2 separate regions of the Homo sapiens genome follow, and region 2 is linked to region 1. The links are contacts of gene promoters, found by promoter capture Hi-C in blood cells and fetal thymus (Javierre and others, 2016). All regions are on one chromosome and are shown on one strand. Each heading gives the region's core, a stretch centred on a gene start or on the middle of the fragment in contact. The rest is flanking DNA. Distances are from core to core; before and after follow the strand shown. Region 1 holds the start of WNT3A (Wnt family member 3A). Region 2 has its middle 75 kb from the start of LINC01641.

Region 1 (7,301 bases), core at 2,975-5,474:
CTTGCTGATCCCACACACAGTCAGTCAGAACATACGCTGCATGCCACATGTGTTATCCCCTGTGTTCCTACAATAAACTCAGCTGGAGAAAGGAAATTCCTGCTCAGAAAACCTAGAAAAGAAGCCAGACTCACAGTTCATGAGGCGGCAGTGGGTCCTCATAAAGGTCTTCATCCTAGTGGCCTTCATATTGAGTGGCTGAGGAGGAAGACAGAAGCGGGGCTTGGTCTTGCTGTGTCAGGGTGGCAGAGGCAGGAGAAATCCATGTATAAGTGACCCACACAGTGCAAACCTGTGTTGTTTGAGGGTCACCTGTCCTGCATGAACATCTCCTTGTATGGCCTGAGAGCCAGGACCTTGAACAAGAAGTGAGAGTGTTGCTTCTGGAGGGCCAGTAACTGCAGTTATGTGAGGATGAAATAAAAATATGATTCATTTATTTTTAACTGATATGATTTTTTTTCAAATAGCTACTGATCATTAAGTGGTTGGACCTAATTACTTAATAAACAAAGCTCTTAGGTATTTATTTTAGCCTGAGGAGCTGGGCAAAGAATGACTATAAGTTGTTTTCTTGATTAATTTAATTTAATTTTATTTTATTTTATTTAGAGTCAGGGTCTCACTCTGTCACCCAGGTTAGAGTGCAGTGATGCAATCATAGCTCACTGCAGCCTTGAACTCCTCAGCCCAGATGATCCTCCCATCTTGGCCTCCCAAAGTGCCGGGATTACAGGTGTGCACCATCACACCTGGCCAATTGAAAGTTTTGATCTCAAGAACCCACTGCTTATGGAGAAGGCATCCAAAGAGTGACCCCCACAAGGAAGGTCAGGGAAGCTTCCAGAAGGGACCAAGTTCCAATGGAACTGACTGTGGAGGGGCACTCCGTCTTCTGACCCTGGACCCCTACCCTGTCCTGCTGCTGTTCCTTCCAGGGTCCCTCAGCCAGAAAGCCCCCAGAGCCTTGAACTCTGTCTGCCCAAACCCCTTCTCTGTTTTCCCCCAACTTATTTTTGCTCAAATGAGAAAAAAAGGAAGCAAAAGATGACCAGTTAGTGTCTGAAATCCTGGCTTGCCCCACCCATAACAGGGACTCACACCCGCTGTAGACAGGGAACCCACTACCTCACACAGCAAACTGTCCATCAGAGATGCCCCTCCCACCTGGCTTACCCCACCCAAGCAGGTATCTTACAGAGCTTCCGGGGTGGGCAGCGCCTCCTCTCGCCTGGGGGCCTATTCTGGAAGGAGGGAGCACGCTCCCTGGGCCCTCCAGCAGGCCAGAAATGATGTTCCCTCCAGCACCATCCATACATGGGGAGTTTTGTTTTATCAAACACATGGCTGGCTGCTCAGGGCTTAGCTCCAGAGCTGCCCGGTTGTCAGGCCTTCTCACACGTGCCCTCTCTGAGGACGATTAGCCCTTTCCTGACGCTGGCTTGCAAAGGTCTCACCCACCTCCCCGTTCCAAGTGTTGGAATGTGGGTCTGTGTCCTGGCCAACAAGGAGGTCTGTGGAGACAGGACCGGGTCTCAGTCACCGTTCAGCAGCCACCCGGCATGCCCCCAGGAGCCTGCCCTATGCCTTGACCTCAACCTACGCCATCCCAGTCCCCAGCGCAATGCACAGGTGGGGACATAGACCTTGACAGACTGGTCAGGGACAGCTCCCTTTAGGCAACAGCAGAGGGCGCTTCCAGGGAGGCCCCTCACCTTCCTCTGCACCCCAAGCAAGGGACAAGAGGTGCTGTAGGCAACATCACCCGAGCCTGGAAGACACTCAGGAGAAGCCCCTCAGGCCCCTGACACCCAGCTGGGGTCCCACCCTTGCTCTCCCACTCTGCTCTCCACCCCACCCCAGCCCAGCCCCACTGACTTGGCTGCTCAGGAGCCGAGGCTCTCGGAGGCTCACAGAGGGAAGGAGGAGCCCCACGTGGTACAGGCAGGTACCGAGGAGCTAGTTCCAGAAGCCTCCGCTCGTTCCTCCATGCAGCCTACCCTGGCTCCCTGGTATCCAGAGTCTTCAGAAACAGGAGCCCTCGCTTGAGAGCCTGGCCTGGGCAGGCTGAGCTCCTGCCTGGGGCCTCGGAGTCTGCTCCTCCCTTCATCTTCTGCAGCCTGGGAAGCGGCCGGATCTCAGTGTGTGTACTACCCAGGTGGCACGGGCAGAGGATGGGGCCTGATGGGGGAGAAGAAAGCAGCCAGGAGGAGGGGCTTGGGAAACCAAGGGGCAAGAGGGCAGGACTGAGCAGGCTGCGCTCACCTGCCCCCTTCAGTGAGGTCACGAGGCCCATCCTGTCGGTGGGCAGAGCTGGCATCCTCTAGGGGGCTCTAATCCCCGAGCCTCATTTCTGGGGAGGTGGGGGTAACAAGAGTCTGCGTGCCTCAGGCTGGGCTCAGGCGCCCACCCCACCTGCAGCCCAGGTTTTCCCCAGTACCACAATTGGGTGGGATTTTTGCTGCAAGGCCAAGTCCAGAGGAGCACAAACACGCTCCTCCCCTCCCCCTCCCTGACCCCACCGCCGCTTCATTCCAGAGCTCTTCCCTCTTTCCCTCTGAGGGTGGGGGCCCCGCAGTGCCTGGGAGAAGCGGGTGGGCGGCCGGGCATGCGTAGCGGAAACTGGATTCCCAAGGTAGTGAGGAGCAAAGGGAACTTTTTTTCAAAGAGAAAGGCTGTCACTCTGAATTCAGGACTCCTGACATAGTCACCAGGTGACCCCTAGGGCCGGTGTCCACAGGACCACAGGCTCCCTCTGCAAACGCAGAACCAAGTTGTGAGTGGGGCACACTGTGGGAAGCAGCTGCCTCCATCAGCCAGCCAGTGACACACCTGGGGACATCTCAGCCACCCCCTCCCTGAGAAGCTGCACAGAAGCGGCCACATGCCCATCCCTGCCTCTCCATGCACCTCCCTCCCGCAACTCTGCAGCCGCACAGGAGGCCTAGCCCACAGGCTGGGCAGTGCAGTATCCCCAGAGAACACACCACGGATGAGTCTGGAGTTGCTTGGAGCTCTCAGAAGCTCCCGGAGCCTCCTTCCTCAATTCCAACGCGGTAACCAAGATTCCTGCTGAGCTTAGGTCACAGTGTGACTGCAGGAGGACCAGCCGCGATGGGAGAGTGCCTCTTAACCATCCCAGTTATCAGGTCCCCCGGGGGAGGCTGGGGACACTTCCCCTCTGCAAATTACAATCTCCCCAGGCGGCTCCCGGGGCAACACATGGATATGCAAATGACTGGGAGCTGGAGAGTTGACTGGTCACTGGGTGACCTTGGGCAAGTCACTTTCCCTCTCAGGTCTTCCCCTCTCCATCAGCAAACTCCTAAAGCTTAACTAAACAGTCAGAAATCCCTCTGTCGGAACAGGCTGCATAGCTCTGGGCAGACCTGGAGGTTGGTGGTCCCAGAACCTGGGGGCAGCACTGCGCTTCCCCACCGTCCCATCGCGTCAGGGGCTTCCACTGTTCTCTTCCCTGGTGGAGTGATGGGGAGAAAAATGGAGGGGTCAATCCCTGCGCCACAGAGAGAGTCCCACTCGTCCCCAGCTGTGACCCACAGACGCGTGGCTGCACCTTGGAGGTCCACCTGGCCGCTGTCCCCATTGCAGGCTGCACCCATCCCGGACCCTTTCTATCCGCCGAAGGCGCAGGCAGCTCTGGTCTCAGCGGAAGGAGTCCGGCCGCAGGCAGACGGGGCCAAAGGACGTGCACCCGACAACCGTCCGCTCCCTCCCCAAACCCCCGCCCCGAGAAGGTTGATGGATGAAGGGGAGCCCTAGCCCAGCCACCTCGGGGGCAAGAGACGGAGCTCGCCACAGACCAGGAGCGAGAGGGGGACTGCGGGTCCCACCGTGAGCGCAGGGCGCGCGGGGCTGGAAACCCAGGACGCGGCCCGGGAGCTCCAGGAGGGCGCCTGCGGATCGCGCGGCCCCGGGCCGGCCGCCTGCCCATCTGGCGCACCCCAGCGCGCCGCGCACACCTGGGGGCCCGCACACCAGCACGTCCTCAGACACACCGACACCCACGGCAGCAGGCGGGGGCCAACGCCGCCGCCGCGGTTCGGGCTCCCGTGGCCCCGCCTGCCCCTGCCTGCCCCGCCCGGGCCCCGGCCCCGGCGGGCGCCCCCCGCGGCGCTGCCCCGCCCCCGCCGCCCCGCGCCGCCCCGGGCCTCGGCCCGCAGCCCGGCCGCCGGCCCACCTGGCGCAGCGCCGCCCTCGGAGCCCGCGCACACCCGCGCACCCGCGGCCGCAGGAGGGCCCAGCGACGCCGCCGCGCCAGCTCCCAGGGCCCGGCCCCCCCCGGCGCTCACGCTCTCGGGGCGGACTCCCGGCCCTCCGCGCCCTCTCGCGCGGCGATGGCCCCACTCGGATACTTCTTACTCCTCTGCAGCCTGAAGCAGGCTCTGGGCAGCTACCCGATCTGGTGGTGAGTGAGCCTCCTCGCGTTCGCCCCTGCCCCTGTGCGCCGCGCCCGCAGCAGACGGTCCCCTCGGGCAGGGACCCCGCGGTGGCCCGAGCCCGCGCCCTTCTGCTCCAGCCCCGCGTGCGGGCCGCGGGCGGTTGGTTTTCCTTGACGGCCACTTTGGACCTGTTCAGGCCGCTGGGACGCGTGGGTGGCGGAGTTTCCGGAGACATTGATTCCCGAGCGGGGGAGTAGGGGAGGTTGCGGAGGTCCTAGCTGCCCCTGGCGTCGGACAGGGCGAGCAGTGGGCTGGGGAGAGGCTGAAAGAAGGTCGGCACGCACGGTCACCGAGGGGACAGGCAGCTCGAGGCCAGGGGACAGGCGAGGGAAGAGGGCCAGCGAGAGAGAATTCGCCGGAGACTTTCCTCAAAAACCGTATCTTACACACAAACACACACACACGTTTTAAAACAAAGTCGATGAGACAAGACTGAACAGCTCGGAGCAGCGTGGTTACGTAAAGAAAGCTGGGACCCGGCGGGGAGTGGCGCAGAGCCGGCGGCGGGGCGCACTGGGGGCCGGCCCTGGGCCCCGCGCGCCTCCCCGCCGCAGTCCGGGCACGGGGGTTTCCAGGGGCCCTCTCTGCGAGCCCTCCGCATGGGTCCACCTGGCAATGAGGGGCTGCTGTAGAGAGAGTTAAGGGTGAGTTAAGCACGGGGTGTGAGGGGCTCCAGGACCCTCAATCAGAAAGCGCTGTGCTGCGCCCTCCACACCAGAAAAGGCGCGTTCCGTGAGACCCTCCCCAGCCTGGCGATGGAAGTGCAGATAAACCAAAGGAAGGGTCCCGAAAGGTCTCTCTCAGGCCTCCCACCTCCACTGCACATATCCTGTGGGAGGGGGAACGGTGGCCACACTTTCGCCAGGGCTTGTGATCCCTCAGAGCCCTCACCAAGCAAGGATCACCCCAGTTCCGAATTAAGGGCGCTCTGAGATGCCCAAGATTGAGGAACACAAGTGGGAGGAATGTGGGCGCGCAGGGCCGGGCGCAGCGCTGGTAGGACCCACAGTTGGAGAGAAGCCTCCCCACAAGCATGCACACTCCCCCCCATCCTTCTCCGACGGCAGCCTGGAATTATAATAATTACGCCGAGGGGAAGGGGGGAGACCCAGCGAGCCGAGGTACATCTAATCCGATAATAATTTTTCTCTTCGAGATGGTTCAGGAGCGGGGGCTCCCGCGGTAGGGGCGCCGGGCCAGGAGCAGCGGGGAGGGGAAGGGGCAGCCCTAGGCAGCTGAAGGGCCTGGAAGAGGCCACGAGGCCGCGGGGACGCGCTTCGGGGACCCCCGCGCGCCCCTATTTCCGCGTGCCCCATTTCCCGTGCGGCACCTGCTGCGCCCAGTGGCCCACCTGAGGGTCAGGCTCGGGGCTCGCCTTGGGGTGCGGGGATACTGACGCGCGTCCAGACGGCCGCAGGGAGCCAGGGGCAGCGCGTCCGTCCGAGAGAGCCCCGAGGGCTGCCGGCTTACGCACCAGGCTTCTAATTAGAACCCGCCGCCGCGTTCCTGAGCGCAAAAGGAAGCTCCTTCGCCCCGCGCCCTTCCCATAAATGTCGCCAGCCTCCTGGCAACCCCGCGCCCTAGGATCTTTGTCTTGTCGGCCCTGAGGGTTCCTAGCCTCGGTCCCCATCCACCTCATATGCATGTATACCTCCTTTTCACCTGGGCCCCCTGTGTTCTACCCTGAATGGACCCTGAGACACCCTCGGGGACAGTCAGGCATTCTGCAGGGGAGCCAGGAGGAGCAGAGAAGTGAAGTCCCTGTACCCTCCGCACCCTCCTATCAAGAGTCCAGGACAGCCCTTTGGCCACACAGGGAAGCGGGGCATAGAACCCCACCTGACACTGACCGGGGTGGGTGGTGAGGACCCCTCCCCCATCCCCACCACCACTTTGTTCTCAGTAGGGTTCTCACACTTGGGGATTCTCTGCTTCCTGAGAAGCAGCCTCCCCTTGGGGGAGGCTGGCTCCCTGGGGACAAGTCTGCCCCCTTCTTGATCCCCTCTCTGCTCCCAGGCAGGCTGCTCGGGCTGGAGCAAAGACATGGCTTCCCCCAGGCATGAGCAGCACCCCGGCAGCATAGGGAAGAAGACTCACAGAAGGACGCAGTGCTGCAGGACCCCTGCTGCTGGACCCCTGCCGCTGGCATCCTACAGTTTAATAGCCTTAATAGCCGGGGAAGATTCTCTCTCTTTCTCTGGTCTTCTACCCAGTAGAGCATCTCCTCCTTTCTCCTGCCTCCCCGCATCCACCCCAGATTAAGCATCACCAGGGGAGGAGGGGACCTTGGCCCCTGCCAGGTGGGCTCCTGGTGAGCCCCAGTGGAACAGAGCAGGCTGGGGTGGGGGGCCTCCCTGTAACTCCTCACCTGTGCCCCCAGCCCCTCCCTAACATGAAGCCGCTGGCCCCTTGATTCTCCCCCCTCCACCATCACCGGCACATGAAAGTGAAAGTGAAGGGGAATCTCCTCACCTGGAGAAACAAACCAGGAAACAGCCCAAATCAGGGTAATTAGGCTTTTGAAGTTGGCAGAGGGAGAGGCAAAGGTGTCCCTGTGGCCAGCAGCCCTGTGAGAGTGTGAAGGGCCACCTGCCTCCCCAGGGCTGGGTGGCCCAGAGGTGTCTTATACCCACGCAGCAGATGCCAGTGGTCCCAAGGCTGAGCGGGTCTGAAATGCAGAGAGACGGGCCTAGCCTAACACTGAATGGCCCAGAGCTGCACAGATGTCCAGGGGCATCCATTCTGAGCTCATCCAGTGACAGAGAGGAGACAGGCAGGAGACCAGACCAATGCATATGCATCTGCCCACCTGCGTCCCATGAGGCCACAGACGGCAGGAAC
Region 2 (7,301 bases), core at 1,923-4,422, 540 kb before region 1:
CTTGTGTCTTATGCCAGCCCCAAGCAGCACAAGCACAGGAAGTTGGCAGAGCCCTACCATGGGTCAGATCTACCAGCAGGCAGAAACAAAGAATGGTGCAGATGGCAGTGGAAAGGAGCAAAGGCACACCAAAGGTAACATGCTGACCTCTTCCGTGTCCTTCAGTGCCAGGCCCAAGCAGGACCAGTGTAGGAGGTAGGCAGAATCTTACTGCGAGGCTGAGACCTAGGAGCAGACAGCAGCTGCAAACATGCAGATGACAGAAGAAGTGGAGGTGCCCTGTGGATCACAGGCTAACTTCTCATGTCCTAGAGTGCCAGCCCCAACCAGGCTGACCCAAGACTTCGGCGGGAACACTACTGTGAGGCTGCATTCTCCAAGCAGCCTGCAGGAGGCATACAAGCAGATGGCAGAGGAGAGGAGTGGAGGCGCCCCATGGGTCACAGGCTAACCTCTTGCATGTCCCGGGGTTCCAGCTCCAAGCAATGTCAGTGCAGGAGATCGACAGAATTCTACTGTGGGTCTGAGATCTCCGAGCAGGCTGCAGAGAGCAAACATGCAGATGGTGGAAGAGAGGAACAGAGCTGCTCTATGGGTAACAGGCTGGCCTCTTGTATGTCCCAAAGTGCCAGCCCCGAGTGGGGTTGGCACAGGAGGTTGGTGGGGGACTACTGCAAATCTGAGATCAAGGAGCAGCCAGCAGCAAGCAAGGGCACAGGCAGCAGCAGAGAGGAGCAAAGATGCCCCATGGGTAACACTCTGATTTCTTGCATGTCCCCTAGTGCCAGCCCCAAACAGGACAGGCATAGGAAGTCGGTGGAGCCCTACTGTGAGTTTCAGATGTATGAGCAAGCGGCAGCGAGTGAAGGTGTAGGTGGTAGTGGAAAGAAACAAAGGCACCCCTTGGGTAATGCATTGGCGTCTTGCATGTTCCCCAAAACCAGTCACAACCAGAGCTGGTGCAGGAGGTCAGTGGAACTCTACCTCAGATCTGAGATCTACGAGCAGGCTGTAGTGAGCAAACATGCAGATGGCAGAGGAGAGGGGCAGAAGTGCCCCAAGAGTAATATGCTGATCATTTATGTGTCTTGAAATGCCAGCCATGAGCGGTGCTGGTACAAGAGGTTGGCGGAGCTCTACTGGGGGTCTGAGATTTATGAGGAACAGGAGGCAATGATCAAAGGTACAGATGGCAGTGGATAGGACTGGAAGAACCCTCTGGGGAACATGCTGACTACTTGTATGTCCCTCAATCCCAGCCCCAAGTAGGGCTGGCACAGGAGATTTGTGGAGCCCTATTGTGGGTCTGAGATCTATAAGCATGCAGCAGTGAGTAAAGGTGCAGGCCACGGTGGAGAGAAGTGCAGGTGCCACATGGGTAACATGATGACCTCTTGCGTGTCCCATGCTGCCAGCCCCCAATAGAGCTGGTGCAGGAGGTCAGTGGAGCCCTATTATGAGTTTGAGATCTATGAGCATGCAGCATTGAACAAAGGCACAGGCAGTGGTGGAGAGGAGTGGAGGTGCCCCATTGGTAACATGCTGAACTCTTGCATCTTCCCCAATGCCAGCCCTGTGTGGGGCTGCTGCACAGGGCTGGTGGAGCCCGATTGTAGGGCTGAGATCTATGAGCAGGTGGCAGCAAGCAAAAATGCAGGCAGTGGCAGAGAAGAGTGGAAGCTGGTCTGGCACAGGAGATCAGTGGAGCCCTACCCACAGGTCTGAGATCTGCAAGCAGGCAGCAGTGAGCAAAGGAACATATGGCAGTAGAGAAGAGCAGAAGTGCACCATGGGGACCATGCCGACCTATTGTGTGTCACCCAATGCTAGCACCAAACTGGGCTGGATCAGGGGGACAGCGGGGTCCTACTTCAGGTCTGAGATCTGTGAGCAGGCAGCAGCAAGCAAAGGTTGACATGGTGGTGAAGAGGAGCAGAACCACTCCATGGAAAGCATGCTGACTTGTGTGTCCCCCAATGCCAGCTCCAAGCTGGTCTGCCAAAGGACATCAGTCTGAGCCCTACAATTTATCATTCTATGAGACTTTTTCGAAGCTTTCTTCATATCTTCTTTGCCTTTTCTTAATGAGAACTCAAATACTCCAACTTCTGAGTACCCATCCCATTCTCCTTATCTATCTAGATGGTACCTAAATGAAGGAGCCAGGTAAGAGTCTGATTGTTCCCTTTCTCTTATGTGTTAAGGTAGCTGATACTTGGGAAAATTTAGACCCAATGTTTAGGGATTTCTTGCTTAAATTCAGAATAGAGGTTGGCGTATGGAGTTTTTAATAAGTTGTTTTAAGTCACCTCGATAGAAATGGCTTTATTCCTCCAACTATAATTTGAACACTGAAGGGAAGAAAATTGGAGAAGTGCTTAAAATGATTATGAATGGTGTAAAATGTTACTGCCAGGGCTGCAGAATAGTTGATGGTTTTTTAAACCCAAAGCTTACCCACAGTGTTTTGATTGCTTTAAGATTTCCTCTTTAACCCAAATATATCTTCAGATCTACTCTGGTGACTTACTGGACTTCATTTTCCTCCTTGTTCTAAAAGTGGAGGGGTGGTTCATAGTAAAAAAATTTCAAGAGCTGGAACATAAATTCAGAGTTACATTTGTGATGTAAAGGTTTGGGAGTTTAAAATGCCAGATGCTGCCTGTTCAAGTGTTTGTTTCCATAGCTCCCTCCTCATGTCAACAGAATTATGTTCAAAGATGAGAGTGTTAGAGTTCAAACTCTAATCTCTGATAGGGATGGAAAGGGGGGAGATGAAAGAAAATTTTTAATATTTTACCATCAGAAAAAGAACGAATTTAAGTAGAAATGGTTTTGAATAATATGGTTCTTGAATAAAAACTAAGTTCTTTGAAATAGAAAACATTGTATCATAAAGATAGTTAAATCTGGTTGTCTCATTTGTTTTAATAAATGCCAGATATTTCATTAGTATAGAGAAAATGTCTTATAGCTCTTCTGTTTAAACTTTGATTGGGCTCTTAATTTCTTTAAAAGTTAGAAAACTTAGGCCTAGCATGGTGGCTTACGCCTGTAATCACTGCACTTTGGGAGGCCAAAGCAGGTGGATCAGCTGAGGTCAGGAGTTTGAGACCAGCCTGGCCAACATGAGGAAACCCCATCACTAGTAAAAATACAAAAAATTATCTGGTCATGGTGGTGCATGCCTGTAATCTCAGCTACTCAGGAGACTGAGGCAGGAGAATCACTTGAACCTGGGAGGTGGAGGTTGTAGTGAGCCGAGATCGCGCCACTGCACTCCAAACTGGGCAACAAGAGCAAAACTCCGTCTCAAAAAAAAAAAAAAAAAAGAAGAAGAAGAATTAAAGCTCATGATGTATGTGCCTTTATAACTGGAAAGTACCATATTCAATTTTCAGAATATTCAATAATAGTGAAAGAACGAATAGATTGTGTTAATAGATTGTAACTTTATGCACAAAGTATGGAAGTACTTGTGAATATTTATGCTCTGTTTGGTGGTGTAAGGTAAACCTCAGTGACTTTACACACCAGTTGGTAGATGGGTAGTGCTGGATGAGATCCCAAAATAGGCTCTTCATGTCTTTTTTTAGTATGTACAACACATTTTAATGTACATCTTATTTGGCCCTTCCAAACACAAATAAGGCCTGTGTATATTCTCCCTGTATTGATGATGAAAAAACAAAGACTTTGAGATCTGAAATGACTATGTAAGACAGCTACTGAACAGAACTAAGGTTCTATAGTAAGTACCCTGAAACTGACATGGAGATGGTAGCGATGCCTAATTCAGTTCCTAAACTTTAAAACTGTGGAATACATTGTATGTTTTACCTATAAAGTAAACTTATCTCTTAGAACTTACTCCACCTTGATTAGTTCAATTAAAAGCTTATTTTATACAACTCAGAGGCAACATTTACCTGTCCATTTTTTTTTCTAAAGGGAAAGGGGTCTTAACTGTGTTGCCCATACTGGCCTCAGTCTTCTGGCCAGGGCTCAAGTGATCCTCCTGCCTCAGCCTCCTGAGTAGCTGGAATTACTGATATATTCCATCTTGCCTGGCTCCATCTTATGTCTATACATTAATTTCAACAGATACGGATAAAAGTAGAGGTAATAAAATTACCCAAATTTACCAATCAAGCAGGTTAATAATTTTTAAAGAGTTTTCTCTTGTCACTGTAAATTGAAGCTGAGAATTTCCTGGACAAGAGAAGCTGGAGACAGGAGAGGTAAGGTATCATGCCTTAAGCATAGAACAATAATAAGGAGTGTTAAATCAGAAAAGTTAAAAAAATAGTTTGTGAGCACAGAATTTAACATTTTATGTTTATTTGCATGACACTTAAATTTTCATTTCAATTTGCCTCTTGAAATTTATTTTTCTGGCATTCAATAAAGTGATAAGCGAAACCTCAATTTCAGCATTTGCCTACAATTCCTAAGTTTCCATAGAAACTGAGGCAGGACATTAACAATTTGCTGTTAATATCTTTAGTTTGGACAATTTTATATCAGTTTACTTGGAAACTGAGAAATTCCTACTTAGATGTAAAACATTTTAGTTTTACTACAATGAAGAATGGAATTATTTTGGTTACTTAGAAAAAAATCAGACGTAAATAGTGTACTTTGTTCTTCTGAATCATTTCAGAATAATGTGATTTCTCCAAGCCACTTCACAGAGATATTCCTAAGAACCTTTTTTCAGATAGTCCCACAGACATTTTCTACTACCTTGCCTTTATTTAAACAGTTATATGGTTTGGCTGTGTGTCCCCAGCCAAATCTCACGTTGGATTGCATAATTCCCAGTGTTGGGGGAGGGATCTCGTGGGAGGTGATTGGATCATGGGGGCGTATTCCCCCTTTGCTGTTCTCACAATAGTGAGTTCTTATTATATCTGATGCTTTGAAAGTGTGCAACACTTCCCCCCTTTGTTCTCTCTCTCCTGCTTCACCACTGCAAGACATGCTTGCTTTCCCTTCACTTTCCACCATAATTGTAAGTTTCCTGAGGCCACTGAGCCATGCTTCCTGTACAGCCTGTGGAACTGTGGGTCAATTAAACTTCTTTTCTTTATAAATTACCCAGTCTCAGGTAGTTCTTTATAGCAGTGTGAGAAAGAACTAATACAGAGAAGGGGGGCATTGCTGGAAAGATACTTGAAAATGTGGCAGCAGCTTTGGAACTGGGTAACAAACAGAGGTTGGAACAGTTTGGAGGGCTCAGAAGAAGATAGAAAGATGAGGGAAGGTTTAGAACTTCATAGAGACTTGTTGAATGGTTTTGACCACAATACTGATAGTGATATGGACAGTGAAGTCCAAGCTGAGCTGGTCTCAGATGGAGATGAGGAACTTATTGGGAACTGGAGTAAAGGTCACTCTTACTGTGCTTTAGCAAAAAGACTGGTGGCTTTGTGCCCCTGTTACAGAGATCTGTGGAACTTTGAACTTGAGAGAGATGATTTAGGGTATCTGGTGGAAGAAATTTCTAAGAAGCAAAGCATTCAAGATATGGCCTGGCTGCTTCTAAAAGCTTACATTCATTTTCATAAACAAAGAAATTACCTGAAACTAGAACTTACATTTAAAAGAGAAGAAGAGTGGAAAAGTTTGGAACATTTGCAGCTTACCCATGTGGTAGAAAAGAAAACCCGTTTTCTGGAGAGGAATTCAAGGCTGCAGAAATTTGCGTAAGTAAAGATTAACTGAATGTTAATAGCAAAGACAATGGGGAAAATGCCTCCAGGACATTTCAGAGACCTTTGTGGTAGCCCCCCCCACATCACAGGCCTGGAGGCCTAGGAGGGAAGAATAATTTCATGGGCCAGGCTCAGGGTCTTGCAGCTCTCTGCAGCCTCAGGACATGGCACCCTCTGTCCATGCTGCTCCAGCTCCAGCCATAGCTAAAAGGGGCCAAGGTACAGCTCAGACCATTGCTTCTGAGGGTGCAAGACCCAAGCCTTGGTGTTTTTCATGTAGTGTTGGGCCTGCAGGTGTGCATAAGGCAAGAGCTGAGGTTTTTGAGTCTCTGCCTAGATTTCACAGGATGTATGAAAATGCCTGGATGTTGAGGTAGAATTCTGCTGCAGGGGTGGAGCCCTTGTGGAGAACCTCTACTAGTACAGTTCAGAGGGGAAATGTGGTGTTGAAGCCCCTGTACAAAGTCCCCATTGGGGCACTGCCTAGTGGAGCCGTGAGAAGAGGGCCACCATCCTCCAGACCCCAGAATAGTAGATCCATTGACAGCTTGCACTGTGTACCTGGAAAGCTTCAGGCACTGAATGCCAGACTGTGAAAACAGCTATGGTGGCTCTACTCTGCAGAGCCATAGGGTCAGAGCTTCCCAAGGCCATGGGAGCCCACCCCTTGCATCAATATGGCCTGGATGTGAGCTATGGAGTCAAAGGAGATTATTTCAGAGCTTTGAGACTTAATGGCTGCCCTGCTGCATTTTAGACTTGTATGGGGCCTGTAGCCCCTTCATTTTGGCCAATGTCTCCCATTCGGAATGGGTTTATTCATCCAGTGACTCTACCCCCATTATATCTTGTAACTGTTTATTTGCAGGCTCATAGGTAAAAGGGATTTGCCTTGTCTCAGATGAGATGTTGGAGGTGGACTTTTGAGTTAATGCTGAAATTAGTTAAAACTTTGGGGGACCGCTGGGATAGCATGACTGTGTTTTGCAATGTTAGAAAGACATGAGATTTGGGAGGGTCCAGGGTAGGATGATATAGTTTGGCTCTGTGTCACCATCTAAATCTCATGTCAAATTGTAATTCCTAATGTTGGGGGAGGGATCTGGTAGGAGGTGATTGGATCATAGGGACATTTCTTCCTTGTTGTTCTCATGATATTGAATGAGTTCTCATGAAATCTAGTTATTTAAACGTGTGTAGCACTTCCCCCTTTACTCTCTCCCTCCTGCTTCACCATGTTAAGACGTGCTTGCTTCCCCTTCACCTTCTGCCATGATCGTAAGTTTCCTGAGGCCTCCCAGCCATGATTCCTGTACAGCATACAGAACTGTGAGTCAATTAAACCTCTTTTCTTCATAAATTACCCAGTCTCAAGTGGTTCTGTGGTTCTTTATAGCAGTGTGAGAACAGACTAATACAGTTGGGTTTTATTCCTTTCAACAGCAAGCCTATAGAAAAAGATCAACTGCTTGGGCTGGAGGAGAAGAACACTTAGGTCAATACATGATTTGTTAGCAACCAGCTAGAGTTTAGGAGAGAACACTTTTGCTGTGCACTTGAAAAGAAACCTGTCTATGGGCACTG

The links. The method cuts DNA at HindIII sites, captures the fragments that hold promoters and counts their contacts. A CHiCAGO score of 5 or more calls a contact.
Region 2: a contact is called between a fragment that was not itself captured here and the fragment with the promoter of WNT3A in region 1, in 2 of 17 cell types (M2 macrophages and total CD8 T cells). The highest score is 5.2, in M2 macrophages.

What each region holds. Positions count from the first base shown.
Region 1 is chr1:228,002,774-228,010,074 of GRCh38, forward strand. WNT3A (Wnt family member 3A) reads left to right here and starts at 4,225. Exons shown (of 4, transcript NM_033131.4): 1 at 4,225-4,426. The coding sequence starts at 4,356. RefSeq lists an enhancer at 1,739-1,788. The HindIII fragment of the contact is 11,751 bases long and covers 3,330-7,301 here.
Region 2 is chr1:227,465,054-227,472,354 of GRCh38, forward strand. No RefSeq gene overlaps it. Among named protein-coding and RNA genes, the nearest start is that of LINC01641, 75 kb to the left of the region's middle. The HindIII fragment of the contact is 1,445 bases long and covers 2,451-3,895 here.